Regions from separate parts of the Homo sapiens genome. Here all the other regions are linked to region 2. Evidence: promoter capture Hi-C in 16 types of primary human blood cells and fetal thymus (Javierre and others, 2016). All regions are on one chromosome and are shown on one strand. The core of a region is centred on a gene start or on the middle of the fragment in contact, and the rest is flanking DNA. Distances in the headings are between cores, read along the strand shown.

Region 1 (2,837 bases), core at 113-2,612, 3.0 Mb before region 2:
ATACATTAAGTATCCTTACTGGGGAAATAAATTACATTACGTTTACAACAAACAACAGAGAATACATTAGAACAAAAGAAACAGGCCCTTTTTCTTTTCCCAAAGTTAGTAATAAATAAAAATAATCACAACAATAATAGCTACTAATTACCCAGTGTTTACTATGTGATATGTATATAAGCTTCCTGGGGGTAGGTGTTATCATTTCTATTTCAGACATACTAAACTGCAGCTCAGAGAGGCAAATTCACTTTTTTTTTTTTTTGAGACGGAGTCTCACTCTGTCGCCCAGGCTGGAGTGCAGCGGCATGATCTTGGCTCACTGCAAGCTCTGCCTCCTGGGTTCACCCATTCTCCTGCCTCAGCCTCCCGAGTAGCTGGGACTACAGGCGCCCGCCACCGCGACTGGCTAATTTTTTGTATTTTTTAGTAGAGACGGGGTTTCACCGTGTTAGCCAGGATGGTCTCGATCTCCTGACCTTGGGATCCACCCGCCTTGGCCTCCCAAAGTGCTCGGATTATAGGCGTCAGCCACCGCGCCCGGCCGGCAAATTCACTTTTCTAAGAGCATGTATGTCTCATGGAGCAGAGATGGATTTTGTTATTGATTGACTGATTGACTGATTGATTGAGATAGAGTCTCGCTCTGTCATCCAAGCTAGAGCACAGTGACGTGATCTCGGCTCACTGCAACCTCTGCCTCCTGGGTTCAAGCGATTCTCCCGAGTAGCTGGGACTACAGGTGCTCGCCACCACACCCAGCTAATTTTTGTATTTTTAGTAAAGATGAGGTTTCACCATGTTAGCCAGGCTAGTCTCGAACTCCTGACCTCAGATGATCCACCTGCCTCGGCCTCCCAAAGTGCTGGGATTACAGGTGTGAGCCATTGTGCTCGGCCAGAGATGGATTTTAAACACCTATCTGGTAACTTACAATGTTAACTTGCCTGGTAGGTTACCTTAGTAACTCGGTAACTGCTTACTTGGTAATTATTTCAAGTTCTGTTTGCTTTGTTACTTATACATGGTTTAGAGTCCCTTTTAGAAATTTAAACTAAAAAACTATAAATGTTTACTATTTATTTGTGCCTAGATTTGTTAAAAAGAAACTTGACAACTCTAATATGCATAATATATTTACTCTATTGACAAGGATTTTTAAAAAAGAAAAAAAAACTGGCTGCAATAGACCTTTCATTCATATAAAAAATGTTTTGCCCAGTTATATAACTAATACATATTCATTGTGGGAAATGCAGAAAATACTAAAGAAATAGAAAGAAAAATTCATAAATTCTACATTAAATAAAAACTAGTGTTCTGGTCTTTTTTTCTGTGTGATAATATTATACTATCTTTTCATGTATTATTCAAATACAAGTGTTAACCAGTGTTGTTAATGAAGTCTTGAGAAATGCCATTTTAAGAACTACACAGCATTACACCATGCAGATGCACTTAACCAATTCCCTGTTCCTGGACATTTAAGCTATTCCAATTTCTTTACTATTGTGAAAAATGCTGTACTATCTTTATGCATCATGATTTTTCTAAACTCTAGAAAATTCTTTAGGATGGATAGCTTTAATAATTTAACTTGAAAAAGTAAATGTTTGTGTGTGTCTAAATATAAATAGTGGCAATATTGTTCCCAAACTGACTGCATCAATTTATATTACTATGAACTGTATACAAAGTATCAGTTTTATTTTTCCCCCAATAGCATTTCTCTCTTCCTAACTGAAGAGCTATAAAATGAATTCTTGTTTCAATTTTCATTTCTTTGTTTAAAAGAAATAAAACCTTTTTATTGATCATTTTCATTACTTACAGCCTGTTCCACTAATTTTCCTGAGGCTAATTCCTCTTGGAGTTTCTGGGCTTTCAATGTTCGTTTTGCCTTTAAAAAAAAAAAAAAGAAAGAAAGAAAGAAAAAGTAAACATTTAAATTTTACTTACAACATTCAAGTCACCACCTAAATTTTTATATATTTAAAATGAATAACTTTAAATTAATTTATTTCAGAAAAGGTCACTGAACAAACCTATCTCTTTGGGATTCCTTGTAGCCCTAGACCTATTACTCTATAAAGAGCAGGAGTTACACAGTGTTTGAACCAGGCATTAATGTAAACTGAGCCAAATGGCATCAGTAGTAAATTGCAGGGAGCAAGCCCTGACAAAAACAAGCAGTTGCCACAGAACTCTAGATGACTGACTCTTACCAGGCAGGCGTGGGGTTACCATATATTACAATATTCAAGAAAAGATGAAATCCAGATTTTTATATGAAATCTTATAATTTTAAAATGATACCTCTAATTAAAAAAAAAAGGCAGTGTGACTATGACTTCAAAGGAATAAGGGTGAATAGGTCAAATCATAACAGTAAAAACTGAAGTTGGGTTAAAATAAAATAAAATTTTCTGAAACAAATTATCCATTCCCTTTCTACTACTCCCAAATGCTATGGGAGGCAACTATAAAATAGGTTCATGGGCAAGCTATAGCTTGGGGCCATACATTTCTAACCTCACAAAACCAAAAGCTTTGGACACTAATCTGTCTTCATGCTTCCAATATCTTTTGCTACCTAAGTCAGGGAGTAAAGGACCAATATAAGAATCAAATAAGAAGAAACTGCTGGCAAGTATGGCTAGCACACTATTTCCTTTACTCAATATTACAATTATAAAGGTAGCCTATACAGTAGTACTACTATTATAAAAATGCTACCATTTTTAAAGTGCTTCAAGATTTGAAAAGTAGAGCTGCTAGAGATACAGCAAAAGGACGATTCTTTAAAAACCCCAGGAAAGCAGGGAATTTTGCTCACC
Region 2 (2,700 bases), core at 45-2,544:
ATAAATTGCCAATTTATATTCACTAGGTAAGCTTTTATTTTCAAAAGGAACAAAGGCCTCTTCCCCATTTGAGCCCCAGTTTCTTAAACTGACCTGATTATGTGGCTAAGGTATTATTGTGAGGTATTGATGTTTTCTCCTGTTTTTCCTTCCCCTTCCTCCCCACCCCTTTTCCCCCTTTCCAGAGTTTTGTTCTGTGGCATTGCCTTGGGTAAGTACACGGCAGGGCAAATAGCAGAGTGACGGCAAATCTTTCAGATTTTCACTTTTTCAAAGTAAGAGAGACCGAACTGGGGCCATGAGAACAGAGACATCCAACTACTGTGTAATTCATAAGAGTTTAGAAATGACTCCTTGTGCACCCTTTTTCAGGCCCTTTTACAAATGGACTTTTCTCACTTGTGATGATCTGGGAGAGTGAGAGTGAGGAGAGTCTAAGAAGAGTTCAGGCTAATTATTTTCCCACTAATCTGGCATAGGAGAGGCTCACAGAGATTAAATTCATTATGGTAAATACAAAGAGTAATACTGCTTTACACTCGGGTCTGTAGACTGAGATTCACACTCACCACAATTATTCCTGTTAACAGTCTGCCACATACCTTTCATTTTAAGCAACTGAAAAATTGTACCAACTTTTCTCTTTAAATTTGCTTTAAAAGCAAATTCAGAAAATTGGTAGAGGGTCAAGAAATTACACAGTCCAACTCCATTATTTGATAAATTGTATAAAAAGCAAACTAAGGCAAGAATCAACTGACTTCCAAAGTTCACGAAGAGAGCACTCTGGAAGTTGATAAACCACCAAACCATATAAATTCCACCACCTCTTTATCTGTAATTAAAAATCAAAGGTTGACTTTTTTTTTTTTAACTACTCACTGTATTTTTAGAAAGATGGGGCAGAACCACTGTAGAACTCCTAAACCCCACAGAACAAACAGTACATTCTGGAATGATACGCCGGCCAATCCGGCTGGCAGCCGATTGACCTGACCCAGGCGAGGGTTGCTGCACCGAGTATTTAGTTTGGCCCCCTACTGAATGAAGACACTTTGTTAAATTCTCCAATGAGAGACGCTTAGAGGTAGGGGCGTGGAAGGGGGCCGGGGAATTTGAGGCCAGATAACGGGAAGTGTGAGCCGATTGGCCGGACTTCTCACTCCACGGCCCAGCCGTTTACGGATCGCGGAGGCCATCCATCAAAAGAATTACACCAATCAGCGGCGAAAATGCCCCCTTCTCGCGAGAAAGCCCCGCCCTCCAATATATTCCTCGTTAGGGCAGGCGCGGCCCCTTCGGCTCCGAGCTGACCCTGATCAGGGCCGAGTTGTCTCGGCGGCGCTGCCGAGGCCTCCACCCAGGACAGTCCCCCTCCCCGGGCCTCTCTCCTCTTGCCTACGAGTCCCCTCTCCTCGTAGGCCTCTCGGATCTGATATCGTGGGGTGAGGTGAGCAGGCCCGGGGAGGGTGGTTACCGCTGAGGAGCTGCAGTCTCTGTCAAGGTGAGTGGGACTGCGCGGGAGTTGACCGCCAGGTGCGGGTGGGGAGCTGGGTTGGGGGCGCGGGGCGAGGAGTAGGTCTGGCCCGCGCCCTTTTCCACACTAAACTCTACCGCTGTTGTGAGCACAAGCCCAGGCTAGTCCGAGGCTGGAGGGGCGGAGCCGGATCCGGCCTCCTGAGGTGCCTTTCGTGTCTGCCGACCCAGTCCCAGGGACTAGCCTGGGGAGGAAGAATGGAACCCCTGCAGTTAGAGGTTCCTCACATGACTAGCTCTGAAGACCTCCTGCCTTCCTGTCTTTAGTTGGTGTGGGAGGGACCTTCCATGTATCCAGGGCTTAGCTTGTGCCCGGGACATGGTTGTGTTATGCACACTTAAATCAATGGAATTCCCAGGTTCATCTTTCAGACTAGGTTAGCAACAACCCACCGCACCCCCCCGCCCCAATACGTGCTCCTAATGTCACCTTTTAAGTTTCCTTTCCTAACAACAATAAAAGTTAAGTAATATTGAGTATTGTGTGCCAAGCACTGTGCTATACTCTTTAAGTGGTGAATCATCTTGTTCAGTCTTCACATTCAGCGACAGATATTGTTACCCTCATTTTATAAATCTAGAAAGAAGCTCAAGCTCATTATTATTGTTCAGTGTTTTTTAAGCGTCTACTGTATGTGCTAAGCTCTTTACGTGATTTCATTTTAACTCACAAATCTGTGAGGTAGGTCATAAACCTTATCCCTACTTTATCAATGTGGAACTAAGTACAATTAAGTAACTTGAACAGTTCATTTTGTTAATATGTGGCAGAATACTTAACTACCATCTGCTTTTCACTTTCGGTATCCTGTCTTACGGTGTTTATTCGTGGTTATCTATTGACAGTGAATAACTTGAACAAGTATTTCTTGAAGATTTGCATTTTATTTTTCTAAAAAGCATGGTTCCGACCGGGCGCGGTGGCTCACGCCTGTAATCCCGGCACTTTGGAAGGCCGAGGCGGGCAGATCACAAGGCCAGGAGACCGAGACCATCCTGGCCAACATGGTGAAACCCCGTCTCTACTAAAAATATAAAAATTAGCTGGGCGCGGTGGCGCATGCCTGTAATCCCAGCTCCTCGGGAGGCTGAGGCAGGAGAATCGCTTGAACCAGGGAGTCGGAGGTTGCAGTGAGCCAAGATCGTGCCACTGTACTCCAGCCT
Region 3 (2,728 bases), core at 211-2,710, 3.0 Mb before region 2:
CATCTGCTGTTAATCAGATTGCAATGTGCATAATGTGTGCTGAGACTGAGAACTTTAAGCAGATGCTCCTCCATTAATACAGATAATTTGCATCTTGTGGGGGTTGTTGCTATTTTGTTCTGACACTTTTTGAAATAAGACAGACTTTATTCATACCTTTACAACTCTGTAAACCTTCTGCATTTCTCTACACTACCTCTGAGCCTGCCTCTCAGGATACTGTACCTTCTTATAGTAGGAGCTAACAGTCAGGAATGCCATTATCTTGCTACCATTTCTTCTTTCTTATTACAAGTTGTATTTTTCTACTTTCCATGCCAGCCATGGATTTTACCTTTTTTCATGCTGGGTATTTTTACATTTCTATTAATATTCTTAAACTTTGTTCTAGAGTATGGGTAAGGTACCTAGAAGCAATTTGATTCATTTGAGACTTGCCTTTAATGTTAGGCATCACCAGAGCAGCATTTAGCCCAGGGCTCATTTCCCCCTACTACTGAAGTGTGAGATGCTTAGGACTCTGCTGCCCCCTGAATTATGAGGTTTTCCTGTCTAGCTGGTGGGAGCAGACACTATTCCCAGCCCTGTGTGGGCTTCAGGAATTCTTCCCTCTGATCTTTTCAGCTATATGGATCAGTGCTCTTCTGAATACTACAGGGAGACCCTCTGCAAATTTCCAGGGTTCTCTCTGTGCAGCTCTCTCCTCTCCAGTGCTCTGCTCTGCAAACTTGGCCTGCCTTGGCCTGACTCTGCTCTGTCTCTTCAACTCAGGAAATTCACTGGGCTCTGCCTGCCTCCCTTTCTTCCCCACTCTGAGGCCTGGAAACTCAAAAGTAGCCAGTAAGGATAGTCATCGGCCTCACCTCACTTATTTCACATTCCTCAGGCATCGCTGTTCTCTGTCGCCTGATGTTCACTCTTTGGGCAGCCCTCATTTCATATATTTTGTCTTGTTTTTTAGTTTCAGGCAGGAGAGTAAATCTGGTCCCTGTTACTCCATCTTGATTGGAATTGAAAGTTCCTTCTAGATATTCCTTTCATTTTTTTTCTTTTTTGAGACGGAGTCTTGCTCTGTCGCCCAGGCTGGAGTGCAGTGGTGCAATCTTGGCTCACTGCAAACTCCACCTCCCGGGTTCATGCCATTCTCCTGCCTCAGCCTCCCGAGTAGCTGGGACTACAGGCGCCCACCACCACGCCCAGCTAATTTTTTTTTTTTTTGTATTTTTAGTAGAGACAGGGTTTCACCGTGTTCGCCAGGATGGTCTCGATCTCCTGACCTCGTGATCTGCCGGCCTTGGCCTCCCAAAGTGCTTGGATTACAGGCGTGAGCCACCATGCCCGGCCTTTTTTTTTTTTTTGAGGTAACATTCACATAAGAAAATTCATTTAAAAATGTACAATTCAGTGGCTTTTAGTTCAGAGTATATGCAACTATCACCACTGTCTAATTTCAGAACACTTTCATCACCCCCAAAAATAAACCCATGCTCATCAAGCACTCATTCCCCACTTCATTTACTTTGGAATGATGTCCCTCTGCCACCAGGATGAAGTCTGAGTTGCTCAGTGTGGCTCACACGGCCTTGTGGTGGCTCCTTGGGGGTGTAATTTCCTGTCCTGATTCACCTGGCCAAACCTGTCCATCTCTAGTACTCCAATGAGATGCTTTTCTTACCAGAAGCCTTTGCACTTACCATGCTCGGCTGTGTCTGGTCCTCTCCTCCGCTCTACTGGGAGCAGGATGAGGTGTGTCCTGTGCACTGGTGTATTCTCTGCCTGGCATGTGGCAGGTGCTTCAGGGACTTGCTGAAATGAGTAAAGATGTCATCAGTCCCTGGGGATCCAGGTTTCTAGAGACCCAGCGACTGCACTGTACCCACTGTTAGCATCACACGGTATCAGGGCCAGGGAGCCTGACTTCAAGGTTTCCAGAGAGAGAGTGGTGGGGGCAGGCACAGGTCTAGGAGGTCAGCTTCTCCTACCCTAGACAGTTCCTGGTCACCTGTCTGTCTGTGCCCCACCAAGCCCAGGTATAACCTGTTTACTGAGAAGCTCCAGCTCTGCTGGGGAAACATAAACTGAGTTTCTTTCTTTTTTTATTGCCACCAACTGTGTTTTGTTGACCTGTTCTCCTTTCCTCCTTTCTGGGTGGTGGGTGATGCTGAGCAGCATTCAGACAGATTTCATAGCTTTCCAGTTACTTTTGGTTAAAATTAAACTTTGCTTATTTTAAAACTTGAGGTTCACACCTATTTCAGGCTCTTCTCCCTCTCCCCTAGTACAGGCGAGGGCTTGGCAAAAGCCCATGTGTATGCTCTGCTCACCACACATGTCCCTTCTCCCCTTCCGGTGTTATGACCCTCATAGGGGCTTAGTCCAGCCCCAAGCCTGGGAGGACGGCTGGAGGGAGAAAAGAGTCTGCTCGTGTGACAGGCCACTTGTTGGTTATGGGAAGTGTGCTGGCTTCGTTCTGGCTGTTGTGCTCTGCACGATGCTGGTGGCCTCTGCTCATGGGGAGGTCCTTGTGTAGAGAATCACCCTCTTCTCCACGGCTGAAAACCCTGTCCCTCCTGAGAATGGCAGCCTGCCTCTCTTCCCACACCTTTCCCAGGTGGGCCCTTCTATTCCTTGGTCCAGGGGCTGTCCAAGGCCTCTGCCCTTCCATGATTAACCACTGGGATCTTTTCCATCCCCTTTGAGGGCTGCAGAACCAGGATGGGGTGAAGGT
Region 4 (2,711 bases), core at 109-2,608, 3.0 Mb before region 2:
GGACGCAGTGGTGGGCATCTGTAATCCCAGCTACTTGGGAGGCTGAGACAGGAGAATCTCTTGAACCCGGGAGTGGAGGTTGCAGTGAGCCGAGATCACGATCACACCACTGCACTCCAGCCTGGGTGACAGAATGAAACTCCGTCTCAAAAAAAAAAAAAAAAAAAAAATTGAGATATAATTCAAGTATCATCAAGTTCACTCTTTAAAAGTATAAGTTAGCCGGGTGCGGGGGCACATGCCTGTAACCCCAGCACTTTGGGAGGTCGAGGCGGGTGGATCACGAGGTCAGATCGAGACCATCCTGGCTAACATGGTGAAACCCCCTCTCTACTAAAAATACAAAAAAATTAGCTGGGCGTGGTGGCGGGTGCCTGTAGTCCCAGCTACTCAGGAGGCTGAGGCAGGAGAATGGCATGAACCCAGGAGGCGGAGCTTGCAGCGAGCCAAGACGGCGCCACTGAACTCCGGCCTGGGCGACAGAGCAAGACTCTGCTTCAAAAAAAAAAAAAAAAAAAAAAAAAGTGTAAGTCTATTTGGTTTTGCTTCCCATTGGCTCATGCCTGAAAATGCTGACCTATTATTTACTAACTTTCAGCAGTTTTTGGTGGCTTAGACAAACAGTGAGGATGTCAAAAATGCACACGCTTGTATTACAGAAAAAGTCATTGATATTTTCTTTCCCACCTGGGTTTCCCAGTGATTTCTTGCAGTCTCATGGTTACCGGCTCCAACAGAGTTCTGCCTGCCAGTTTTCAGTCCACAGAGGCTCAGGTAAGGAATTTTAAATTTGAGCCACTAGTACCTTTTCTAGAGATGTTTAAAATCAGCTATTTGGCAAAATCTGTAATGTGAGTAAAGTTGCTTTCTCATTCAAACCTATACAGAGAGTGACATCTGCTGGTCATGAAGATTATGTTTTTATTCTATTTTACTCCTTTTCAAAATTTATCAATGACTCTAAAATAAAACATAAGAAAAGTAATTATCTCTTCTTTGGGAAAAAAGAAACCAACACATGACTAAAAATTCCAATATATGTACCACTGTGGGACATTTTTAAACTAAAAAAAATTGAAATTCCTTCATTTTAGCAAACACTGCAGCTCTTTCATTTGATCAGGAGAAAATAAAATTGTTGTAGAATTTGAAAATGAATAAAAATCCTAGTTAGCCATTTCCTTAAAAATGTCCTTTGAGTTTTTGTTTCAGAGCAGCAATAACTAATTTAGTCTAAGACCTAATGAAAGACTGGCTATCAAAGGTCATTTAATCCTGGTCCTTCTATCATACTATTAAATCCTAGGTTTCATACATGCCCATGTCCCTATTCCTACCTCCTTCCTAACTTTAGAATTGCATACAGATTAAACTTTATATACACACATCTAGATTTTTTTTTTTTTTTTGAGATGGAGTCTCACTCTGTCACCTAGGCTGGGGTGCAGTGGCACAATCTCAGCTCACTGCAACCTGTGTCTCCTGGGTTCAAGCAATTCTTCCGTCTCAGCCTCCTGAGTAGCTGGGATTATAGGCGCATGTCACCATGCCTGGCTAATTTTTGTATTTTTAGTAGAGGTGGGGTTTCACCATTTTAGCCAGGCTGATTTCGAACTCCTGACCTAGTGATCCGCCCACCTTGGCCTCCCAAAGTGCTGGGATTACAGGCATGAGCCACCGCACCTGGCCTACACATCTAGATTTCCATATTAGCTTTGGAAATTTTTCTGTCTTTGATGTTAGATTGTAATAGGAAAATTAGGACCTATATTCTGTTACTACATTTTTCAGTGAAAAAAGGTGTGTATTTATACTTACTGATAAAATATAAACTTTGATTTGCGTACTAATGTGGCATCTAAATTTGGTAGTCAGGTTCCATTTCCCTTCAGGTTTATTTTTTATTTTTCAGTATTATAAAAGTGTTCTGATTAGCCACCTTATAAGTAAAACTTTTGGACATTCCTGATTCTTTCCACATGATAAATTTATAGAGGAAAAATTCTTAATCAAAGGGCTATAAATAACCAACAAAGAGACTAACATTAGTGTAATAATAATAAAAAATTGAGAGTAGTAGGAGATGGATATTTTATAAATTCAATCCTTACATATTATCTAGGGGAGTCAATATATAACTTTTAAAGCTGATTCAACTGCTATATGTCATGGTATGAACATACTACTTAAGAGATGTGGGTGGAACCACAAGAAATTACAGAAGAAATGGGTAATTGGGCAGGAAGGGGATTGTGGCTTTTCCTTATAGGACTCTCTATATCATTTTTTCCCAGCCTTGAGCATGTAGTACTTTGATAAAATATTAATGTTTAAAAATAGAAATGAAAATTTATTTAAATTAAAAAATATTTTGCCAAATTATCATCCAGAAAAAGTGTGCTAAGTTAGATTCCCATGGGGAATTTTTTGATGGTCTTGAATTACTCCATTGATTTCATGTCAATTTATTTATGATTTATACTCTGACATTTTGAACTTAGAAAAATACATATAAGATGTAATATAAGTGACAAAATTAGGGTAAAGGAAAAATAAGTATAGGAAAAATTGAACCCAGAGGACCCAAGAATCCAAGAATCCATCAGAACAGTCTGGAAAGCTGGTTATGAATGAGGATCCTTGACCTTATCACAGGCCTACTAATCACAATCTCTAGGGTAAGGCTCAGGAATCTCCTTTTCAGCAGCCTT

What was found. The method cuts DNA at HindIII sites, captures the fragments that hold promoters and counts their contacts. A CHiCAGO score of 5 or more calls a contact.
Region 1: a fragment that was not itself captured here is called in contact with the fragment with the promoter of CCNG1 in region 2 in 13 of 17 cell types (non-activated CD4 T cells, naive CD4 T cells, total CD4 T cells and 10 more); the score reaches 26.4 in non-activated CD4 T cells.
Region 3: a contact is called between a fragment that was not itself captured here and the fragment with the promoter of CCNG1 in region 2, in 15 of 17 cell types (M0 macrophages, total CD8 T cells, total CD4 T cells and 12 more). The highest score is 28.0, in M0 macrophages.
Region 4: a contact is called between a fragment that was not itself captured here and the fragment with the promoter of CCNG1 in region 2, in 6 of 17 cell types (non-activated CD4 T cells, naive CD8 T cells, activated CD4 T cells and 3 more). The highest score is 17.4, in non-activated CD4 T cells.

The regions. Positions count from the first base shown.
Region 1 is chr5:160,410,620-160,413,456 of GRCh38, forward strand. SLU7 (spliceosome associated SLU7) reads right to left here. Exons shown (of 16, transcript NM_006425.5): 5 at 2,837; 6 at 1,832-1,900. Among named protein-coding and RNA genes, the nearest start is that of SLU7, 7.0 kb to the right of the region's middle. The HindIII fragment of the contact is 2,367 bases long and covers 180-2,546 here.
Region 2 is chr5:163,436,301-163,439,000 of GRCh38, forward strand. CCNG1 (cyclin G1) reads left to right here and starts at 1,295. Exons shown (of 7, transcript NM_004060.4): 1 at 1,295-1,504. It also overlaps a transcript of LOC105377700 not described here. RefSeq lists enhancers at 900-949, 1,391-1,968, 1,660-1,859 and a silencer at 1,140-1,219. The HindIII fragment of the contact is 4,161 bases long and covers 30-2,700 here.
Region 3 is chr5:160,430,564-160,433,291 of GRCh38, forward strand. No RefSeq gene overlaps it. Among named protein-coding and RNA genes, the nearest start is that of PTTG1, 10 kb to the left of the region's middle. RefSeq lists an enhancer at 1,867-1,956. The HindIII fragment of the contact is 3,173 bases long and covers 1-2,728 here.
Region 4 is chr5:160,390,393-160,393,103 of GRCh38, forward strand. No RefSeq gene overlaps it. Among named protein-coding and RNA genes, the nearest start is that of FAM200C, 8.3 kb to the right of the region's middle. The HindIII fragment of the contact is 4,404 bases long and covers 1-2,711 here.